Regions from separate parts of the Homo sapiens genome. Here regions 2, 3, 4, 5 and 6 are each linked to region 1. Evidence: promoter capture Hi-C in 16 types of primary human blood cells and fetal thymus (Javierre and others, 2016). All regions are on one chromosome and are shown on one strand. Each heading gives the region's core, a stretch centred on a gene start or on the middle of the fragment in contact. The rest is flanking DNA. Distances are from core to core; before and after follow the strand shown.

Region 1 (2,834 bases), core at 119-2,618:
CATGACTATTCCAGTTAATTTATACTTTCTAAGGAAATATATTTAATGACAAGTGTGAGCAAGTAGCTCCTACCTCAAATTAACCACTTAGAGTGGTGTATTTTTCACCTCTCAACTCTCTACTCAGACCCTCCTTCCATTGCCCTTAGGGAATTGAAATTCAGAGACATGACGTTTTCCATTATTGGTTCCTTGCCCCTTTGCAACTGTACAACATTCCTCAAAAAGTACATAGAATTCTCCATCCTATAGGATCAGACAACAGTATCTATTTCAGGAGCAATAATATGCATAATGTAAGACAGAATAGTTTTTCTTGGAATTGTCTGTGTTAATTGTGATTTAAAGGTTACTGGTTCCGTCTATGACAATGGTGTTGCTGAGTTCACCTAAGTATTTTTGTTCAATCTGCATACTTTAAAAACTCAATGTGGCTAAAACTCAAACAGTCTAAATTAGACTGTTGTAAGGATACCATGTGCCCTAAACAGTGGTTTTTTTAGAGCATTATACTTAAAGACAACATTTTCCTTAAAAAAAGAAAAAAAACATGTCTATGAAGAAACAAAGATACTGCAAAATTAGTATAGAGAAGAAAAGTCCAAAATTCCGTATTCCTCTGTTTAACAACCTGTACGGTAAATTGTAGGTGACAATCACGTTGTTACATGAATAGGAATGCAAAGCATAAAGAACAAGAGCTACATCTTGCTTTTCCTAAAGAAATTAAAGACAAGTTTAACCCGCACCTGCCAAACTGTCTTAAAAGGGACAGAAATAGGTGGGAACGGAAAGGCTCACCTCTCCTGTACCCCAGAGTGCGTCTCCCTGAAATCATCTTCAATATAGGCAATATATCTGTCACCTTCTCTTTTATCTTTTTCGTCCATTCTAGTCAATGGCAGACCCTTTGCTGCACTCCCCTGCCCACTATCTCAAAGACACATTACAGAATAAGGGGACCCAAGTGTCACTTACCAGTTGCATGCCACAGATAAAGATAAGCGTGCACCTGCCACTGCAATAACCCATGGTTTCCGAGACCCCTGCCACAGCCAGACTGTCCCACGTCGGCCACCGTCGAGCCCCCACTTTATCCAATCAGATCGCGGGGAAGGACACGCAAACCTGCCGAGGGCTCGGGGGCTCCGGGCTGCTGCTGCTGCCAGCGTCCTGGGAAGTGACAGGCATTAGGACCTGCTGGCGCGGCGGCGGCGGCGGCGGCAGCTCCAGCCGCGCCCGCCACACATACCTTCACTCGCTCGGTGCACACGCCGCGCCGCGGGCAGTGCCGCCTGCGGAGGCGCGCTCGGGGCCCGCAGGGGCAGCAGCGGCAGCCTGGCAGCGCCGCCGCGCCCTCGGGCATCTGGCCCGCGAAGTTTCGCCCCTGCCGCTCTCCGCGCCGCTCGCCTCACGCCCCCCAGCGCGGCCGCCGCCCGACGCGCGCTCGCCCTGCGCTCGCCGCGCGCCGGCTCCGGGGGCGGCAGAAGCGCGCGAGGGCCGCTGCCCGCCTCCCTGCGCAGCCCGCGGCTCCTAGGCACCCTGCGTTGCTGGGCCCGGCGGGCGGGGGTGGGGCGGGGAGCGGGGCGCGGGCCGAGCGGGGGCGTCCCGGCTCCGCGGTCCCCGGCGGCTGCTGCAGCGGCTGCTGCGCGCAATGATGCGGGTCCGCGCCGCGTCCCAGCAGCGGCGCTGCCCCTCCCTTCGCCCAGATGTGTGAATCCTCCTCCTACAACAAATCCTTCATCCTGCTCCCTGCCGCCCCCTCCCAGGGGGCCAACTTTGAGGACCGCAGGGGCTGCCGCCCAGGCGGCCGCAGGCGGCGGTGTCTAGGCGGAAAGGAGCGGCGCGAAAGCGGCGGCGGCGGGGACCGGGGCCTCGGGGCGAGGAGTCTGGGCGGCATGACCGCGGTTTGCTGAGCTGAAGTCGGTCGTGCTCCCAGAGCCACTCCGCGGGAGCGAACCGAGTGTGTGTGTGCGCGCGCGCTCGGGGGAGAAGGGACCAAGAGGAGGGTTAGGGAAGGAAGCTGGGGTCATGGAACAGGGGTGCAACCGAGGCATCCAGAGCGGCCGGAAAGCCCGAGTGGCGGAGAGGCCAGAGGTGGCGAGAAGGGGCGCGGCGGCACCGGACGCACCGCCCAGCACCTGGCTCCCCTGGGCTCCCGAGGATCTGAAGGGTCGGAGCGCGGAGAGCTACGGAGCCGACCCTGCTTGGGGAAGGGGACCGAGTTGCTGCTGGAGTTGGGAAAAATTAGCAACCGGAGGGAATAGGGATGCAATGAGTTGCTGTTGCTGCTTCAAACTGTTGTTTGTTTTCACTTAAAATACTAAAGAGTCGGAGACTAGTTTAATACTCAGTTACTTCAGCTTCACAGCAGTCCCAGCTGGGTGTGGATTCCTAGTGGAGATGCACCAGCCTCCGCTGAGCACCGGCCTGAAAGCTGTGAAGCGGCTGCTACCTGCAGAGACAGGCTTCGGAGCCCGCTGCTGCCACCTGCGGGCGGAAAGCTGAAGGGCGCAACATGCTGGCCCAAGTGGCTGCCCCTGGGGCGTGGATATTTAGGACCAAGTTTCCTTTTTAGCCCTGGCAGCTAAGGAAAGCAATCCTAACTTTTCCAGGAAGTGAAGATTATTTGTTGAGATCCACTGAGGAACTGACTCATTGGGGTGAAGTGTCGCGATTGATAAGAGGATGGTTTAGGGAGCTAAATAGCAAACAGCTCCCTAGCACCCTTCTTAAGAGATTAAGATGACGAAGCCACATCAAGCAGAGAGCTCTCTGTAGCAACTGGAACTTGGCGCCTACTGAGAAAAATGGCATTTATACAGGATAAAGTT
Region 2 (2,834 bases), core at 223-2,722, 1.3 Mb before region 1:
GCTGAAGGCTGCAATAGCTGTGTCAATTTCTTAAAATGGGACAACAATGAAGTTTGCTGCATCAATTGACTCTTCCTTTTATGAAAGATTTTTCTGTAGCATGCAATGCTGGTTGATAGCATTTTATCTACATTATAACTTTTTTCAAAATTGGAGTCAATCATCTCAAACCCTGCCATTGCTTTATCAACTAAGTTTATATAATTATAAATCTTTTGCTGTCATTTCAACAATGCTGTGAACAACTTCACCAGGAGTAGATTCCATTTCAAGTAACCATTTTCTTTGCTTGTCCATAAGAAGCAACTCCTCAACCATTCAAGTCTTATGAGATTGAGCAATTTACTCACATATTCAGGCTCCACTTCTAATTCTAGTTCTCTTGCTATTTCTACCATATCTGCAGTTACTTCCTGCTTTGAAGTCCTGAACTCCCAAAGTCATTCAGGAGGGTTGGAATCAACTTTTTCCAAACTCCTGTTAATGTTGACGTTTTGACTTCCTCCCACGAATTATAAATGTTCTTAATGGCATCTAGAATGGTGAATCTTTTCCAGAAGGTTTTCAATTTACTTTGCCCACATCCAACAGAAGAATCACTATTAATGGCAGCTATCTATTTATTTCTTAAATAATAAGGCTTGAAAGTCAAAATTACTCCTTTATCCATGGGCTACAAGATGAATGTTGTTTTGCCAGGCATGAAAACAACATTAATCTCTTCGTACATCTCCATCAACTGTTGAGTGACAAAGTATATTATTAACCAATATTAAGCAATAATATTTAGAAAGAAACATTTTTTGAGCAGTAAGTCTTAATAGTGGGCTTAAAAATATTCAATAAACCATGCTGTAAACAGATGTACTGTCATTCAAGTTTTGTTGTTCCATTTATAGAGCACAGGTGGAATATATTTAGCATAATTCTTAAGGGCTTTAAAATTTTCAGAATGGTAAATGAGCTTTGGCTTCAATGTAAAGTCACCAGCTACTTTTGCCCCTAACAAGAGAGTCAGTTTGTCCTTTGAAGCTTTGAAACCAGGTATTGACTTCTTTGTAGCTGTAAAAGTCCTTGGTAGCATCTTCTTCCAATATAAGGCTGTTTCATCCGTATTGAAAATGTGTTGTTTCGTGTAGCTACCTTCATCAATGATCTTAGCCAGATCTTCTGGAGAACTTGCTGCAGCTTTGACATCAGCCCTTGCTGCTTCACCTTACATTCATGTTATGGAGATGACTTCTTTCCTTAAGCCTCATGAGCCAGTCTCTGCTAGCTTCCAACTTTTCTTCTACAGATTCCTCACCTCTCTCAGGCTTTATAGAATTGAAGAGAGTGAGGGCTTTGCCCTGGATTAGGCTGTGGTTAAGAGAATGTTGTGACTGCTTTGATCGGGTTTGATCCAGACCACTCAAACTTTCCCCATATCAGCAAGAAAACTGTTTCACTTCCTTATCGTTTGTGTATTCACTGGAGTAGCACTTCTACTCTCCTTCAAGAAGTTTTCTTTTGCATTCACAGCTTGAATAACTCGTACAAGAGACCTAGCTTTTGGCCTATCTCAGCTTTCAACATGCCTTCCTCACTAAATTTAATCATGTCTAGCTTTCGATTTAAGGTGAGAGACATGTGACTCTTCCTTTCATGTGAATATTTGGAGGCGATTGTAGGGTTATTAATGAGCGTAACTACAATATTGTTGTGTCTCAGAGAATGGAGAGGCCTAAGAAGAGGGAGAGAGATGGGGAAATGGCTGGCTGGTGGAGCAGTCAGAACACACACAAGATTTATTGATTCAATTCACTGTCTTATATGGGCATGGATCAGGGTTCCCCAAAATAATTACAATGGTAACATCAAAGATCACTCATCCCAGATCACCATAACAGATATAATATAATGAAAAAGCTTGAAATATTGTGAGAATTACCAAAATGTGACACAGAGACATCAAGTGAGCACATGGCATTGGAAAAATGGCACCAATAGATTTGCTCAACATGGGGATGCCACAAACCTCCAATTTGTTAAAAACGCGATAGCTCACTCCTGTAATCCCAGCACTTTGAGAGGCCAAGGTGGGCGGATCACGAGGTCAGGAGATCAAGACTTTCCTGACTAACATGCTGAAACCCCATCTTTACTAAAAATACAAAAAATTGGCCAGGCGTGGTGGCACGCGCCTGCAGTCCCAGCTACTCGGGAGGCTGAGGCAGGAGAATCGCTTGAACCTGGGAGGCAGAGGTTGCAGTGAGCCGAGATTAGCCTGGGCAACAGAGCAAGACTCCATCAAAAAAAAAAAAATGCAGTGTCTGTGAAGCACAGTTAAGAGAAGCGCAATAAGACGGGTTGTGCCTGTAAAGGTCTGATACTATGCCCTGGACAGAGGAAGAGAACATGGTTTTACAATACTGAGCCATCACTCTTAGTGGAGATACGAAGGTAGGTTTCCACAAGCCGTGGTTCTAACATTTTTGTCAACTGATCAATACACAATTTTGTTTCTTTATATATTTTAGTTTAAAGACACCTTATTTCATGTATATCATGTATATTGTTGTTTCATTAACATTGAGCTAACAGCCAACAGCACTAAAACTCATACCAGAATCAAGTTTATTAAGCTTATTTAACATATATATTTTCTCTCTAAGGCACATCACAACCTTCTTGCACCTAGGAACACTAGACAGTACTTCAATGCTATCCTGGGGGGCCCAGAAAAATCACCAAAAAAAAAAGGTTTGTTTATAGACTGGAGAGATGAAACAAGAAGGCAGAGCTGCCTTGCTTTTCCTCAGCAGGAAACTTGAATCTTCTGGGGTCTCTATCCA
Region 3 (2,834 bases), core at 230-2,729, 1.3 Mb before region 1:
TTTGTATAGCATCCATCACCTGAATAACATATATTTACTCATTAAGTAATTTCTCATTTTCTACCCTCCTTTTCACACCCCCATATGCTAATACCTCAAAAAAAGAATTAAGGACTTGAATTTGGTAAGTTGGATTGAGAAAAATAAAAATAGTGTGTCATTTCAAAGTGAAGGTTCATTTGGAGTGTCTAGAGAATAGAATTTATTGAAAGCAAGAAAGATGGTTCCAAAGAGTGTTCGAGGAATGTTAAAAAAAAACTTTTGAGATATCTTTCATCATTTATAATATGATGGTTATAATTGTAAAAAATTTACAAATGTTAAGGATGATGATTGGGATTTCAAAAATTTAAGAATCAGTATGTTTAATAACAATATCAAGCAGTATTCAAGAACAAGTAAGTAGACTTCGAGCAAGACGTCATGCCATCAAATCTGTGCAGTGAGATGGTTGATGGGGAGAAGGAAAGGCTTTCTAAGGAGTTGGAAAAAAGTATGAGACAGAAACAAGAATGGCAGAGGTGGAGGAAGGCTGGTTAATAAGGCCAGCCCCACTGAAATGAGGGGTTAATTCTGAGAATTAATTATAGATAAGGTTGGATAGGTATGTGGGTAAGTGGAACCCACGGAGAATCTGGAAAGCCTGATGGTTCTATTACCAATAGTATTAGAAGTTATGTTCCAATTTTCATTTTGAAAGGAAAAACCAAAGTAATTATACTAGTTTAAGTAAATATTAGCAATTTTATTTTGACTGTGCTAAAATAATCATCATATACACACACGCATACACATTTGTGTGTGTGTGTGTGTGTGTGAGTGTGTGTTTGTAACGTCTCTTTGGAGGTTGGTATTATTATCCCCATCTTACAGATGAAGAAACTGAGTCTTAGATTATTTGACTGGCTTGGATCAAACAGCTAATAACAGTGGAGATGGGACATAAATCCAGATTAACTCCTCAGCCTTCGTTCTTAACCATTATGCCACATTGCCTCCAATTTCTAGTTTTCTTTCTCTCCATTCCTGGAAACACTTAAATAATTACTATCACAGTGCATCCTATAAAAAACATTAGCGAATATTCAGTGAAAATACAAATTAACAACCAAGGTTGGTGGATTAAATTTACTTGAAGTCAATGTTGCACCATATTGGTGGACAAACTTGCAAAAAGAAAAAATATGCAACTTCCTCTTAAATATATTGACCTCCATCTATACCAGAATGCTTTATTTTCTGCATATCTAATGATATCTGTTAAACAATCATCTGTTTTTTCAGAGGAGGAAGAAAAGGGCTGCTCTATTCATGAGCTGGGTGAACAGTTTAAAGCATTCACTAGAAAAATGAAGAAAATTAACACAATTTGACAAGCTGTAGGAACTTTCATGCGATGTGACATTTTAAACCAGTTCAGTAAGGAAAATACATAATTATTCCTCATAACTGTCACATGAATATAGCAGCCACTCTAAATGCTGGTGAAGAAAATCAATCTGAGAGCAAACAAGATCCATCAAACTGCTTGCATAATTCAATGGCCTGTAGAAAAAAGTATTCTTCCCTTTTGACTCAAATATTAAAGGAATTGTGCTTTCTACCTTATTATCTCTTCTCCATCCTCCTCTCCCTATTTCTAGCTTACCTGCACTAACACACATACACACACACACACACACACATTCACTCCCTCATCTGGTTTCAATAACTCACAATGATAATAGTCACAGTTGATTTCAACAATTCATAAGCTAGAGTGCTCCACCTAGATCTATTGTTTTCAATAAAAGCAGCAGAATATTGACATACATTATTTATTTATAATAATTATAGTTATTATATTCTGTAATTTATGCATTGTTGTGGAGCATTTATTATGTTTGATTCTATCATCACAATTCTCTATTTGCTATTACTCAAATTTGCTTAATGTTGTACTAATTTCTCCTTGGCATGTAATATTTATGTATCTTTCTATGAAGTCTGTCAGTTCTTTTTGTCTCTTGGGTAGTATCATTTCTTCCAACAAGGACCATTGCTTTATTTAATGAGTCTGTTTTTTGAAGAGCATAAACTACTGCCCTTGAATGTACTATACCCTAAATCTGTTTTTATGTTCTCATAGTTTAAAATTCATGATATACACAGTGAGTGTATTACATTTTCTACATGTGGATTAGGGGTGATCCAGCCATCATCTAGTTTATTTGGCAGCCTCTAGTTTTTTCCCCCTGAAAATCACAACCATATTGTTATCCATGATCTAATAATGTTATTACTATCACAAATCTAATCATGTTATTACTATCTTCATAAATTAAAAAAAACTCTCCATAACCCAAGGGCATTTCTCAAAATTTTATCTACCTGATGTTATCTATATTGCTTCTAAAATAAATAAAACAAATCAGATAACATTTTAAAAAGTAAACAGATTTCAAGATCAAACACATTGTGAAATATTCATATTATCACTCCCTCTTATAATTTTATTATATTATAACAATTTCTATAATAAAAACAAAATTCTGCTTAATTTGGATTAACTCAGCATTTCCCAAAGTTGACTACACACACACACACACACACACACACACACAAACACACACACCACAAATACACATATTTCAATGGTGGTGGGAATATTTCTTAAAATTTCATGAGCCTCTATTTTTGTGGAAATGATGAATCTACAGTAAGCAAATCCACAGTCTTCTGCATGACACAAGAGGCCTTGCCCAGTGGGGCCACTGCCCACTTCTCTCCCTGCATTGCCATGATGTGCCAACGAATGATGTGCCAATCATTCATTGCACTCTGGGGTCCAGCCA
Region 4 (2,834 bases), core at 89-2,588, 1.1 Mb before region 1:
TGGAACCTTTTACACAGGCAAAACACGCCATATGAACATGGGGTCAGCATGGGTTAAAGCCAAAATGTGAAATGCATAGCAATAGCACCCTTGGGGGCAGAACTTATAAAAAGGCAGTCTGGGGGTGTATAGGAAGGATGTGCCTAAAGGGAAGTGGTTCTACCCCTTTTTCTTAAGGATAGTGGTGGGCTCTGAACAGCTGGATAGTAAGATACTGTACTTGATAAAACTCACTCATTTTAATGTGACTTAAAACATGTCTTCCCCCATGAGTATTTGAATTTTAAAAAATGATAAGGTAGACAGAAATCTCTGCATTAGTTGACAGCCTAGACAAGGATACATATGATACTAAGGGGTCTGTCTGGAAAGGCTCAATTCAAAGTTTATCTACTCACAATTTGTAGGACACCTACCAAGACAGTGGTATGGGTTTTGCTGGGTTTAAAGAAACTTTGTGAATGATGTTTTTAAAAAGATGTTTTCTTCCTGGGCTTTGTTTCTGATATAAAAAAATCCAAATTATATATTCTTTTACTTCTCTCTCTTGGCTTAAAATAATATATACATAACATAAGTATGTCATAAACTGTCTTACTTTTGTATTTATGTAGTGAGAAAAGAATTTTTGTGTGTGTGGATAATGAGGGAGAAGGAAAGAGAAATATTTTAAAATCAGCACTTTCTACAGAGAAAAACTATCCTAAAATCTTGCAGAAGCACTTCCACAAAGTCAGCTGGCTGAGAACCTGTCCAATTTTTGCAAAATCCAATTGGAAGAATTCTTTACCATTTTCTCAGTATCTTCTTTCTCAGGTTGCTTATTAGGGATTGCCAAAATGTATTCCAATGTACATTACCAGAACCTTCCCTTTCTTTTTCTACTTACATGTCCTTGTGTGTGGCCTTTTAATAGCCCATAATCAGGTGAATTGTTTATGCTGCAGTTAAGAGAAGAAGGCCTTATGCTGGCGGCACCCTGGTATGTTGCCATGGAAATGCCATGATCACTAATTCAGCATTAGGATTTTTGGCCACACTATGGAAATGAGCATAGAGAGAAGGCAGGTTGAGATTTTCTTTAAAATGATACAAAATAACCTCAGTTATACTTGTCCCTTGCTTATGCAACAGACATGTTCTTTGAAGAGTTATTTTTTAAATATATAACTTTAAAAACAAAATCCTATTAGAGATGTTTTAAAGTAGCTTGATAGCTATCATCAGCTGGAAACAAACAATAGGAAGATTTTTGTTGTTGCTATTGTTTTTAGTGATAACAGTACTTATCACCTGGTTATACTATTTTTTGGAAAATTAAATTTGATAATATATGGAATGTATTATCTCAGCATGGCACTTCACACTACAGTAGGCAGATTTCTAAAGTTGTCCACCCAAGATTTCCATCCCCTGGTTATTCAACCAAACACTAATCTAGATATTGTCCTGAAAGGCTCTATACATGTGATTAAGGTCACCAATCAGCTGACTCTAATTGGGCCCACTGTAATCATATGAGCTCTCAAAGGCAGAAAATGGAGGCAGAAACAGCGATATGGCAGATGGGGAAGTCAGAGGGAGTTGAAGCATGTGAAAAACTTGGTCCAATGTTGCTGTGAGCCAAGGAACGTGGGCAGTAACCTGTTCTCATCCTGAAGCTGAGAACAACCCCTGGCCTATAGCTAGCAAGAAAACAAGTGCCCCAGTTCTACAACTGCATATAATCGATTCTGCCAAGGGTGGAATCAGATTCATCTTCAGAGACTCCAGAAAGGAGTTCAGCCCTGTGGATATCCTGATTTCAGTCTCGTGGGACCCAGAGAAACTATCCAAGCATAGGATTTCTGACTTAACCGTGAGATAATAAACTTGTGTTGTTTTAAGGAGCTAAATTCTTGGTTATTTCTTACGGCAGCACTAGAAAACTAAAAGAGGCACCAAGCAATGACCAATAGATATTTCTGTTTCTTTCTGCTTTCCCTGTCACCCATTCACTGCTCCATCATTGCCTCCTCCCTTATCAGTAACCCTAGCTTTCTTTGTGTGTGTGTGTCTGGGTGTTACTCATATACTTAAAATCAGAGGAAGTGAGAGAGAGAGAAGCCCCACTCTCTGTTTAGAGTGTTACTTTGTCCCTGCTCTCCTTAGAGTGCTCATTAGTCCCACAGACCCTCCTTCTTCTCCCCTTGTCTTGTTTATCCTCTTTCCTATTTGCCCAGCAGTCTCAAGGTGATAGGCTGTGGTACCTGAGAGTATGAACAAGATTATTGGGGGGTGGGAAAATAATATTCCACTCATTTCTTCACACACATACACACACACACCTGTACCCTATTCTTAAGGCAGATTTCAACAAAAACAAAGACAGAAAAAAGATGAAAGTGTTTGACTTAATCCGTTTCTGCTGCTATGCAAAACACTGTACAGAGCAGGTAATTTATAAAGCATAAAAATTTATTTCTCACAGTTCTGGAGACTGTGGTGTCCATGTCCCAGGTGCTGGCAGATTTAGCGTCTGGTAACTGCCCACTGTCTGCTTCCCAGATGGTGCCTTTTGGCCGCATCGTCCCAAGAAAATGAACATTGTGTCCTTACATCGCAGAAGGGACGAAAGGGCCAGGTCACTCTCTGAAGCCTCTTTTAAAAGGGCATTAATTCATGAGGGTGGAGCCCTCATAAGTTAATCACTTCTCAAAAAAGTCCGTCCTCTTAATTCCACCGCAATGGGGATTAAGTTTCAACTTGAACTTTGGAGGAACACAACATTCAGACCACAGCAGGAATAGGCTTGTTTTTAAATGTAGTGCTTGCTTGTTTTGGTAAAACATTGT
Region 5 (2,834 bases), core at 193-2,692, 1.0 Mb before region 1:
ATATAAACTAATGTTTTAATTCAATATAGATGTCGTATTTTATTCAATGGAACATGAAATATTGCCAGAAGAAACCTCACATGTAGATCGCTATCTTACTTTGGCATTCTCTGAGAGCAACTCTGAACCAGGGACCTGAGTGTTGGTATTTTAACTGGAAGGTGATCCCATAAAATACAAGTGAAGGCCGTAGGGCAGGGAAAACAGAGAAGAATAAAAGCTGGGAAGTATGTGATAAAAAGCTCTGAGCTCTATGCTATTAATCAATTTATTGCATCTTATCTCCAAATCCTTCCTTTTTTAAAACTGCTTTGCAATTAGGGATCTGGATACATTATGTATTTTTCATTTGCAGCAAGCGTGATATTAAGCTTTGCATAGAGGGTGCTGGAGGGACCATGCAGAAAAACAGAGATTCCCTTCCTGGATCTAGTGTGCTCCTCTCATTAGCTTCTTGCAGCATGCTCATTGCTTATTGTCAGTGCCTGGTGGCCAGCAGTCCACGGTGCCTTCTACTGGTACAACCCTCAAGTGGCTTCACAATTTCTCTGCTGTCAGAGAAGGGAGTGCCACTAGTGGACTTCGTTTCCATGACTGTTTTTCCCCAGGCCACCACCCGCTTCAGGTGGCTTTGTAGTAGAGTGCCTTGGCTAGGCATCTTCTGGTGGATAACTGTTGGGCAGTTCCGCAATCACCTCTGAAACATCGTTCCTTCTTCTGCATAGCTTTCTTTGGCACTCCAGAATAAGTTTTCCAATGAGTTCTGCTAGTGTGGCACCTCAGAGAAGTTATCTGCCATCCAGTGACCCAGCTGTGCCCCCTTCAGTGAGGTCTGGATGTCAGATTGGAAGAAGGTAGCCTTTTCTTTGTGTGCTCTCTCTTAGCTCCAATCCTCTGTTAATTTTTATACTGATTTTTGACTATACAAATTACTGTGTGATTTTCGTCTCCTGATTGAACCCAGACTGATACAAAGTCTCTGGGTGATTCTAATGTAGAGCCAAGGCTAAGGGTCACTGATCTTTAAGGTGAACCTGAATAAAGTTCAAACAGTTTGATAAAGTTCAACACCAGATGATGGAAACTCTCAGCAAACTAGGAATAAAAGGGAAATTTTAAAATATGATAAGAGAAATCTACAAAAGCTTTGTGGCTAATACCCTAGTCAATGCTGAAATTTCCATCAATTTTTCATTGAAATTAAGAAAGCACAAAGATATTCACTATCAAAATTTCTATTCAACACTATAATAAAGTTATTAGTATCTTTATTTAAAAAGTCAATAAAAGATATTCTTATTGAAAAACAATAAATAAAATCATTACATTGTAGAGGATACAGTTGTGTAAATAGAAAATCTTAGACAATCCACACATTGATTATTAAGTAAATTTACCAAGTTGCTGAATTCAAAGTCAACATACAAAAACTAATTTGATTTCTATATATTTTGACTTTTATATATTTATTCGCATTTATACACATGTGTTAAATAGGACACACACCAGCAAATACCTGGCAATAAATCTAAAGAAAGATGTACAGATGTATACATTAAGAATAATAAAGTATTATGAAGACCTGCATAAATGGGGAAATATTCATATTCATCGACTCAAAGACTCAATATTTTTCAATTATGTGTAGGTAGAACACAATTTAATTTAAGTGGGTTTTATTTTTAAAGAATTGATATGCTACTTTAAAATTCCATATGAAAATGACTAGAGAAGCTTAGGTAACTTTCATGAATAACAAAAGCATAGGACATACACTACCAAATATCAAGACAAATTATAAACCTGGAATATTTAGGGCAATGTGGTATCACTGCAAGGATAGACAAATAGACCAATGGAGCAGAATACAAAGCCTAGAAATAGACCTGCACATTTATAGTCACTTGATTCAAAACAAAGTTGCAACCACAAATTAGTAGGAGAAGAATGGTCTCTTCATAAATTGGCAGTAAATCAATTAGATATAAGGTTGGAAAAAGTGATCCCTAATTTCTTCCTTATACCACACCAAAAAATAAATTCAAAATGTATCATAAACCTAAATGTTAAAAGAAAAACAATGAAGCTATGGAAGAAAACGTAAGAGAATATCTTATGATATTGGGGCAGACAAGGTTTCATAAACAGGATGAAAAAGGCACTAATTGTGAAAGGAAAAGTAGATAAAATTGGACTTTATTTAAATTAAGAACTTCTGTTAATCAAAAGATAATATGAAAAGAGCAAAAAGGCAATGCAAGCCACAGACTGGGGAAAGATATTTGTTATATATATATTTTACAAATATCTTTTATATGGAAAAGATATTTGTAATTTATATGTTATATAACTATTTCTATAAATATTATATATAAATATTCATATATTATATATAAATATTTCAGAGAAATATAACAAAATCTTATAAGCCAATTAGATAAAAACACAAAACACAATAAAAAATGAAGCAAAAACTTCACAGAATACATCCAAATTACCAATATGCATATGGAAAGGTACCTATCACTAGTCATCAGAAAAGTGCTAAAAAAAAATTATGGAGACCCCACAACATATCTGCCAGAATGGCTAAAATTGAAAAGACTTAGGGACAATAATAAGTGTTGGGGAGGATGTAGAGCATGTTTGCTGATTAGAGGGTAAATTGATACGATAGCTTGAAGAACTATTTGGCAGTATTTTCTAAAAGATTAGATAGATAGACAGACAGATAGACAGATGATAGATACTGCCAGACAGTTTTCGAAAGAACTAATTTATATTTGTGTGTGTTTATATATATATATGTATATATGAAATCTACCTACCTATCA
Region 6 (2,834 bases), core at 185-2,684, 1.0 Mb before region 1:
ACAAGTTGATCTTCAGCCTCTTAAAATATGGCCTCGAAGCCTTTCATGTCTTCAGTCAACTCCAGCATTTTGACTGATGGGAGCTGGTGTGTGTTTGTGTGCAGTGGGAGAGAGGACACAATCCCGAACCTGACACAGCCTGTGCTTGGAGCAGCCTGCGCCTGCTGCCCTCAATCATTTAGGTATATACAATGAACCTCACCTGAAACAATGTTTGTACAATCGCTAATGCCAGTGGCTAATCCTTCCTATTTGCCTGCTTTATCTCAACACTGTCATCTGTTGAGGTGAATATCAATATTCAAACAACAATAACAAAAGATCCTGTCATCAAAGTGGAAATAAATGAGTATTTTAGATTATTTTAAATAATTTGGCCTATAAAAATAAAAAAAAAGCTCTGCCTATAATTTAACCAAGATTTTTAAATGTAGTGACCTAACCCTCTGCCAACTATTAATTAGCTTGATGCTAACTCTAAATCCCAGATAGAAGGTGGGGGTGGAGGAAGGTTCCCCAAATGAAAAGTCTATTGCAGGCAGTCTTCTAAAAGAACCCTCAGTGTTAGCAGATAATGAAAGTACGTGTTACCTATGACTGAGTAGAAATGATGCCATGACCCGGCAATTTCTTTTCACTGCTGACACATCCCTGCACTGCACAAAATATCAGTGTTGCCTTCATGTAAATTTAATAGGGTGTCTCTGTCAATGACATAAGCAAATACACCATGAGAAGCAGCAGGGGTTTTCAGGGATGGCTCAGAAACTTAAGTATTTTTCCATTTATTTTTAAAATGCAAATTACACTAGTAAGTCAAAAAAATCATTCTGTTAAAAATACATTCAGAATTAACAAATGCAAAAAAAAAGGACACATCAGGATCATAACCCTTGCCTTCTGAATATTAAGTTTATAACAAAAGCTCAGCCTAGAAAAATAGCATTCTTCACCGGATTTTGAGGAGGATACAGCTGTACAACTGTAGATGTTTTCCCAGATATAATCACACTACTGTGCTTACTGATCCCATAAATGACCTGTCCACTGATTACTTTTTAGTAGTCAACTACTGTTTTTTAAAATTTTGGTGGTGATGATAGTTGTGATTTGGTGAAAACTTGGCTGTAACTTAAAGCAGGAATATGAGGGTTTATTTTCTGTACCCATATACATGTACTATAAGGTGAAATCGCATCACAGCATGAATGTACAGTGAAACCTCATTTTTAATAGTCACATTAAAAGTCACATTAGAATAGTTTCTGGCATGTATAGTATTTATATTTTAGGACTCAAAGGACAATACATTGGTAAATATTTTTCTCATACATTAAACATGCATGTCACTATAAAAGCGTCATATGAGGTTTCACTGACATGTTTGCAATTGTTTATTTTATACATGTATGTATGGACAAACATACAACCCACTGAGGAAATTCAAGCATGAGTGCTGGAATCTTTTTTTATAGTTTATGTTCCAATGATAACTCTTTGTTCCTCTATCATTTTCAAATGTATATGTGTGTGTATATTACAGACATCCATGCAAACACAGTAATGGAACTGGTGTATGTAGATCCGAATGGGCTAAGGTCTAAAGTAGTTTAATCCAATAACTGAAACTTCATAGAAATCAAAGAAAAAACTTGCTCCATGCCAATTTATAACTTTTGAATTTCACTGCACTAAAGAATGGTGTGTTAGTTTTAAAAAATTGAGTTTAATGTCTCAGGTGTATCCAAGAAAAAATATGACTCATCTGAGTTCCTGATAAGCCTGAGCTAATTATGTTTTCCACTAATGAAAACCAAATAATGCTTTAAAATATAGAACAAAATTTCCTAGGAGTTCAGAATATTCCATAAACACATTGACCTACTATTAAGTTTCCAAAGGCATCTTGTTGCCAACTACGTTAACAGCACAGTTTTTCTGCCACAATAATACAGGAGGGTTGAAATACACTCTAACACACAACAGATCCCCCAAATACCACAAAAAGATCTCAAATATTTCACCAAGGTAACTATTGCTCCCCCCACCCACCCAAAAATAATCTTGTACACTGAAGTTAGAAAAAAAAGTTCACCTACGTAGAGTCTTCAATTTGAATTAGATATAAAAGAGTAAACATAGCTAATACATATTCAGTTGGCCTCTGTTGATAGAAATCCACAGCTGTTTCTGTGTTAGTAAAAGACAATTGTAGATACTTATAAAAGCACCTAGAGTGCAATAAATAAAATCAGCGAGTTAAGCCATTTCTGCTTTCTGCTTCCAGTAGATTAGTGAGTTTAGTAGATTAATGTTTTACTCTGTCCCACCCCCAACCCCATCAGAAGACCATATTTTAGAATTATAAAGATGACAGATATTGTTATTGTTACTTGTCTCTTTTGGGCCACCATGGAGGCTCTATGGTAAAGCACTTTGCTGACAGCTGGCACTTTTCTTATACAGACACACTGGAGCTGCTGAGCTATTCAGTCTTGTTCCTTGACATGAAACACACAGGCTTGAACTCATTTAGAATTAATAGCAGTGTGTTAGCCTAAAGGAAGTGGCTTGGGGCTGTCTGCACTGGGATTCTTGGGCACACAATGTAGGTGGGTTAAGGCAAGTATGTACGGTACAGCCTTTAGGGCAAACAATCTGCCATTTCGGACTTCGGGTACAAGGTCATCATGGCATGTTTCGTTTGTTTTTGCAATTACATTGCCTAAGTAGCCGTGGTGCTGTCAAGATGTATGGAGTGCAGAAGACAGAGCTCTCAAACTAATGTGCCTTGGATGACTTCCCAGCTCACAGAGGCCAACCCGCTGGGCTGC

Evidence for each region. The method cuts DNA at HindIII sites, captures the fragments that hold promoters and counts their contacts. A CHiCAGO score of 5 or more calls a contact.
Region 2: a contact is called between a fragment that was not itself captured here and the fragment with the promoter of NKAIN2 in region 1, in 1 of 17 cell types (M2 macrophages). The highest score is 6.0, in M2 macrophages.
Region 3: a contact is called between a fragment that was not itself captured here and the fragment with the promoter of NKAIN2 in region 1, in 10 of 17 cell types (naive CD4 T cells, fetal thymus, total CD4 T cells and 7 more). The highest score is 14.6, in naive CD4 T cells.
Region 4: a contact is called between a fragment that was not itself captured here and the fragment with the promoter of NKAIN2 in region 1, in 3 of 17 cell types (M2 macrophages, M0 macrophages and M1 macrophages). The highest score is 15.1, in M2 macrophages.
Region 5: a contact is called between a fragment that was not itself captured here and the fragment with the promoter of NKAIN2 in region 1, in 7 of 17 cell types (M2 macrophages, M0 macrophages, M1 macrophages and 4 more). The highest score is 27.1, in M2 macrophages.
Region 6: a contact is called between a fragment that was not itself captured here and the fragment with the promoter of NKAIN2 in region 1, in 3 of 17 cell types (M0 macrophages, M2 macrophages and monocytes). The highest score is 9.7, in M0 macrophages.

The regions. Positions count from the first base shown.
Region 1 is chr6:123,802,399-123,805,232 of GRCh38, reverse strand. NKAIN2 (sodium/potassium transporting ATPase interacting 2) reads right to left here and starts at 1,368. Exons shown (of 7, transcript NM_001040214.3): 1 at 979-1,368. The coding sequence starts at 1,032. RefSeq lists an enhancer at 2,563-2,612. The HindIII fragment of the contact is 9,489 bases long and covers 1-2,834 here.
Region 2 is chr6:125,150,513-125,153,346 of GRCh38, reverse strand. No RefSeq gene overlaps it. Among named protein-coding and RNA genes, the nearest start is that of TPD52L1, 1.8 kb to the left of the region's middle. The HindIII fragment of the contact is 876 bases long and covers 1,035-1,910 here.
Region 3 is chr6:125,114,960-125,117,793 of GRCh38, reverse strand. LOC124901394 (a long non-coding RNA gene) reads left to right here. Exons shown (of 2, transcript XR_007059735.1): 2 at 1-167. Among named protein-coding and RNA genes, the nearest start is that of TPD52L1, 37 kb to the left of the region's middle. The HindIII fragment of the contact is 4,517 bases long and covers 1-2,834 here.
Region 4 is chr6:124,865,469-124,868,302 of GRCh38, reverse strand. No RefSeq gene overlaps it. Among named protein-coding and RNA genes, the nearest start is that of RNF217, 96 kb to the left of the region's middle. The HindIII fragment of the contact is 4,648 bases long and covers 1-2,834 here.
Region 5 is chr6:124,844,320-124,847,153 of GRCh38, reverse strand. No RefSeq gene overlaps it. Among named protein-coding and RNA genes, the nearest start is that of RNF217, 120 kb to the left of the region's middle. The HindIII fragment of the contact is 589 bases long and covers 1,148-1,736 here.
Region 6 is chr6:124,823,576-124,826,409 of GRCh38, reverse strand. NKAIN2 (sodium/potassium transporting ATPase interacting 2) reads right to left here. Exons shown (of 7, transcript NM_001040214.3): 7 at 770-2,834. Among named protein-coding and RNA genes, the nearest start is that of RNF217, 140 kb to the left of the region's middle. The HindIII fragment of the contact is 4,924 bases long and covers 1-2,834 here.